Linked DNA regions of Homo sapiens: region 2 is linked to region 1. The links are contacts of gene promoters, found by promoter capture Hi-C in human tissues and cell types (Jung and others, 2019). All regions are on one chromosome and are shown on one strand. Each heading gives the region's core, a stretch centred on a gene start or on the middle of the fragment in contact. The rest is flanking DNA. Distances are from core to core; before and after follow the strand shown. Region 1 holds the start of DSCR4 (Down syndrome critical region 4). Region 2 overlaps LOC124905020 (a long non-coding RNA gene).

Region 1 (2,700 bases), core at 163-2,662:
AATATAAAGCTCATCAGAGAAGGTAATAATATCAAGCAAAGCTAAACAAGCTGCTTACTTTAAATATAAAGATATCGACAGGTTGAAAGTAAGTAAGGGATGGTAAAACTACTATGCAAAGCAAAAGTTACAAAACCAAAGCAAAGACTGGCTCGTTTCAGAATAATCAACGTTTCAGGTTTAATATGAAATAATCGTAAATTTGTTTATACCTAATAACATAGCCATAAAATAAAAATTGACAGATAAACAATCATGTTAAGAGCCTGTATAAGCCAGATTTCTCCAGAAAAACAGAATCAAAAGGATATATACATTAAGAATTATATTAAGAAATTTATTTTAGCATATTGGCTTACATGATTGTGGGGCTGGCAAGTCCAGAATCCGTAGGAGAAGCTGGCAGGCTGAAACTCAGGCAGGAAACGATGTTGCAGACTTTAGGCAGAATTTTTTCTTCTCTAGGAAAATTCAGTTTTTGCTCTTAAGGCTTCTGATTGTATAAGGCCCATTCACAGTATGAAAAGTAAGATTTATGTAAAGCCAACTGATTGTAGATGTTAACTACATCTACAAAATACCTTTGCAGCACTACCTAGATTAGTGTTTGATTAAATAAATGGGCAGTAAAGGCCGGGTGCAGTGGCTCACGCCTGTAATCCCAGCACTTTGGGAGGCCGAGGCAGGAAGATCACTTGAGGTCAGGAGTTCAAGACCAGCCTGGCCAACATGGTGAAACCCCATCCGTACTAAAAATACAAAAATTAGCCTGGCTTGGTGGCGGGCACCTGTAATCCCAGCTACTTGGGAGGCTGAAGCAGGAGAATCACTTGAACCCAGGAGGTTGTAGTGAACCGAGATCGCGCCACTGCATTCCAGTCTGGGTGACAAGAGCAAAACTCTGTCTCACCACAAAAAAAAAAAAAAAAAAAAAAAAAAAAAGGCACTAAAGCCTGGCCCCCATGATGACACAGGAAACTAATCGTCATGGAGACTTTATCCACACTTTTGAATATATGTTACATTTCAACATTAAAACACACACACACACACAAAATCATAAAGCAATCAACAAAATTAAGCTGAATGCTTCGTAATTGCTGGATTCCCTGGGAAGCTGACTCTGAGATGGAGATTAGCGTGCAGGACATTTCTTACGGGTTGTTCTTGGGATCAATACCTGTGGAGAGGAGAAGCTGAGGCAGGATCAGGAAGCGGGGAAGTAGAGTGCAATGCTGGTGAAGCGGCATCACTGTCTGGGGTAAATATCCGGGGTTCATCATCTCTCGTCAAGATGATTAACGACATGGACACACATGGGTGAGTTAAGAAGCGGAAAGTTTAATAGGCGGAAGAAAAGAGTGAGGAGACCAGCTCTCAGACATCCTTAAGGGAAAGGCTGGCCCGTGACTGACGGCAGCAGGTTTTACGGGCAGGCTTGAGGAGGCGGTGTCTGATTTACGTGGAGCCCAGAGATTGGTTCGACCAGGGGTGACGTTTACGTAGCGCGCAGGGAAGGCTGGTCACCCCACCCTAATCTTGTTATGCAAATAGGCTTCCCACTTGGCAGGGGCCGTCTTGTCCACTCGTTTCTGTAAACATGGGTGGCAAAAAGAGAAGATGGAGCTGCCATTTAGAACATGCCTAATCCCAGGTAGTGTTTTTTGTTGTTGTTGTTGCTGCTGTTGTCGCTTTTTGAGTCGGAGTTTCGCTCTTGTTGCCCAGGCTGGAGTGCAATGGCGCCATCTTGGCTCACCACAGCCTCCGCCTCCTAAGTTCAGGCGATTCTCCTGCCTCAGCCTCCTGAGTAGCTGGGATTACAGGCGTGAGCCACAGCGCCGGCCCCAGGTAGTATATTTTTATTGGCACAACTGCCGGTATTTGCCTGTGCAAGCTTTCAGCTTGCTTGTCTGTGTCTGCAGCTCGATTTTCCAGGTTGCTTTTTGTTAGAAAAGAAAATGATTTGGGGGCTGCTTTTCATTAAAAGGAAGACCTTACTGAGGACTCCCATACCTTCACTATCTGCCTAAGTACTTTCTTCTTAACTCCTATATCACTGGGTCAGCAGCAACCCCAGTCAAACCTCAAGGGAGACGGGAAGATGGGACGATCTGTCAGAGGTATGCTGAGTTGAGGCAAGAGAGCTGACCTTTATGGATTGCCAATCAGTGACTCATTGGAAGTGGGGCAACCTGGAAGGAAATGTGGCCTTAGGTGAGGCAGCTGTCTTCAGAGGAGGCAATTTCTTTGTATCTGGAGGGGCAATTGTTAGTGTTCCCCTGGACTGAAGGGTGAATTATGGAGAATGGAATAGAACGATTTGTTACTATGATTTGGTTGATGACTTATTTCCTGTTTCCTTAGCTTCATCTTGCTGAGCAAAAATGAAGGAGCCTGGACCCAACTTTGTTACTGTGAGAAAGGGTCTTCATTCATTCAAGATGGCATTTGTTAAGCACCTACTGTGAGTAGATGATCTCCTGTCAAAGACAGTTAACAAATCCTCGGAATATTGCTTCATGTACAGTTATTGGAGATGAGTAACTTACATTCTCTTAATTGTAATGGTTCCTTGGAAAGTCATCGTGGAAAATGAAGGCTGGCTCATACATTTTCCCAGACAGGAATTTGGCTGCCAACAGGGAATTCTAAACAACTAAAAACTCCAGATGATGAATGCACAACATAATGATGGTTAAA
Region 2 (2,700 bases), core at 49-2,548, 49 kb after region 1:
AAAGCAATAAATGTAAGTGGACATTTGGGAGGAAATGTTTGCTTTGCATGCTCATAACTGGATGGCTCATTTGGATGGAGATTGCCCCAGACATCCATGTAAGTCCTCCATCCTAGTAGACAGCAAACTACTGCAGCACGAACCATATTACATTACTAACACACTACAAATTATACTGATACACACTACATATCACAATAATTCACATTACATATTACATTAGTAACATCCTCCATATTACATGATTAACTCATTACACCTTATATGAGCTGGTTTGTGCTGCTCCCTATGTAAGCACCCTCTGTAATTCCATCAGGATCTCAAAGGTCTGGAGCTCAGGTTCAGCCACAGTACCTGCAATGCAATGAAATTAATGGTATTATGATAGTAATGATATGATAATATTAATGCAGGCTGTTGTGCAGTACACCTACTAAGGTTCTGGGAAATAGAATCCACAAGACATGATATACACCTTATCCTTCCTTTTCCTCCAAAACACTGCCACGATCTATCAACACCATCATTTAACAGATGTTGAAAGAAAGACTCTAAAAAATAACTTGCCCAAGGCCAGTCAGTGAGTTGGCTGCAAACTCTCTGTCTTTCCCCATTTCTTCCTTTTCTCTATTCCACGTAGTATTTAAGTCATCACCTCCTGTTCACCCCACAGTGCTCAGCTCTGCCACCCCTCACTCACTGGAGCACCAGTGCTCAGGTCACCCACTATGCCTACCTTGCACATCCCACCTCTGGCTGCACCCACAGGCTCACGCTAGGCAGGGAAGGGCAGGTAAGGGCATCAGGCATTGTGCCCTTCCATAGCCAGGCTCATGGAGGGCTTTCTGAGCAGAGATTCTAATTCTGCCAGCTGACCTGGTAGAAGCCCCCAGGCTGCAGCCCTGTTCTGCCCACTTCCACTCCCATGCATAGGGACATCCACAACATCCACACTCCAGGTAACTGAATCCACCTCCCCACTGCAGCATTTCAGAAGATGCTAAGTGCAGGATGAACCACACACTTCCTTCTCCAAACTGGGCCACTTTTGAGAGTAAAAGAGGCATTATTAATAACTGAGACAACAGGTGGATGCTGGACATATGTCATTCACCCTGTTTGACAAACTCCTGTCGCCTCTCACCAGCAGAGGAGGCTGTGAGACCAGAAGACTTGGAAGGAAGTGGCAGGCACTGATTGTTTCTAAGGGAGCTGGGTTGGATCCTCGTTTTGTGTGGTTGGGAGGCTGGCAGCTGGCAGTCCCCTCAAGCCAAGCATGATGTAGTGGGGGTAGGTTATCTTTCTTCTCACTGCCTTAGTGTCCTCAGGATTGCCTTGGGGCCACTTTTCTTGTCATCAGGAAGTGAGCAGGACCACAGCTGATGACCCTCAGCCTGTCATTTTGGTGCAATCCAGGGTTTAACTGGCCGGGGAGTAAAGGGGACTGTTGCACCATTCCAGGCTGGCTGAGCCTTGTATCTCACCTCCCCACATCTCTGTATCCCTGGGGCTAAATGGGGCTGTTTCCATGCTCCTTCTAGAAGCTTCTCCAGCACCAGCCTTCCCCCAAACCAGAACAAGAGCATTGATCTACACCCAAGAGGAGCAGGAATCAGCAGAAACACAATGGAACAAACTGATATGCCATCTAGTGGAAACACAGAAAGCCTCAAATGAAAATCTCAGCCAAAATGAGGCCACTCAACCAGTGTCCAGTGAATCAAGTTTCTGACAAAAGTCAGCTAAATCAAACACCTCTGTGTTTCACCCTTTTTGATGGCAACGCCTTAAATGTGACTGCTGCTCAGAAAGCCAAGTAAAGAAAATATAATGGGGCTGCTATTGGCTCATTCCGAATCAGGCATTTTCTCTCAGGTCAGCATTTGGGATCAGAATTTTGATTACATAATATTGTCGAAGGCAACAGAAAAGGACCATTGACTCACAGGGTGTTACAGCTGATAAAGGACTTCAGAATTAATCAACAAACATTGAGGCAACATTAACTAAAGGTCAAGAACTATTCTAACCACCTTATAAATATTTATTCACTTAATTCTCACAGCAGCCCTATATATAAGCACTAGCATTATCTCCACTTGACAGATAAGGAAACTGAGGCATGAAAAAGTTAAGAAAGGTGCTCAGGGACACACAGCTGATAAGGCTTCGCACCCGTTTGGTTAGGCTCGGAAGCCACTGCACCATGCCCAAGGTCACAGAGCAAGGAGTCCAAGCAGTATTTCCCTTACTCAGAGATATGAATAGCCAGAAACACTTAGGATGTTTGGTTTTACAACCCACAACCTCCTCCCCCACCTTCGCCAAAAGATAAACTATTTTCTTTTTTTCTGGAACTTACCTAACATAACATAATCTACATAAATCTACAAAATAATGTTGTTCATGAGAAAGGCATATTCGATTCAAGCTTATCCACCTTAAACTGCTTCTGCATAACCAACCTAGACGTATACAGAGTCCCTTCTGTTAGTTCCTTTGATGGATTTTTGCTTTTTTTCTCCTGAAAGTAAAAAGCAGGAACATATACTGTGATTTATTAGGTTTTGCATCTGTGACAAGGAATGCAGTCCTAGAGAGGGCGGTAATTAGCTAATGCTTCTGGAATGCTGCTTCCTTCCCACCAGCCCCTGGAGGTCAGCAGGCCAGGGGCGAAGGCAGCTTTGTCCTGCCCCTATG

What was found. Contacts are between HindIII fragments. The study calls those that stand out against the background at their distance.
Region 2: a fragment that was not itself captured here is called in contact with the fragment with the promoter of DSCR4 in region 1 in 4 of the 25 tissues and cell types used here (dorsolateral prefrontal cortex, ovary, pancreas and 1 more).

What each region holds. Positions count from the first base shown.
Region 1 is chr21:38,119,948-38,122,647 of GRCh38, forward strand. It overlaps DSCR4 (Down syndrome critical region 4), which reads right to left and starts at 1,413. Exons shown (of 3, transcript NR_147130.1): 1 at 1,181-1,413; 2 at 360-461. It overlaps DSCR8 (Down syndrome critical region 8), which reads left to right and starts at 1,504. Exons shown (of 3, transcript NR_026842.1): 1 at 1,504-1,654; 2 at 2,365-2,464. The HindIII fragment of the contact is 7,375 bases long and covers 1-2,700 here.
Region 2 is chr21:38,169,257-38,171,956 of GRCh38, forward strand. It overlaps LOC124905020 (a long non-coding RNA gene), which reads left to right. Exons shown (of 3, transcript XR_007067862.1): 2 at 1-12; 3 at 1,542-2,444. Among named protein-coding and RNA genes, the nearest start is that of DSCR10, 36 kb to the right of the region's middle. RefSeq lists an enhancer at 2,519-2,700. The HindIII fragment of the contact is 4,272 bases long and covers 1-2,700 here.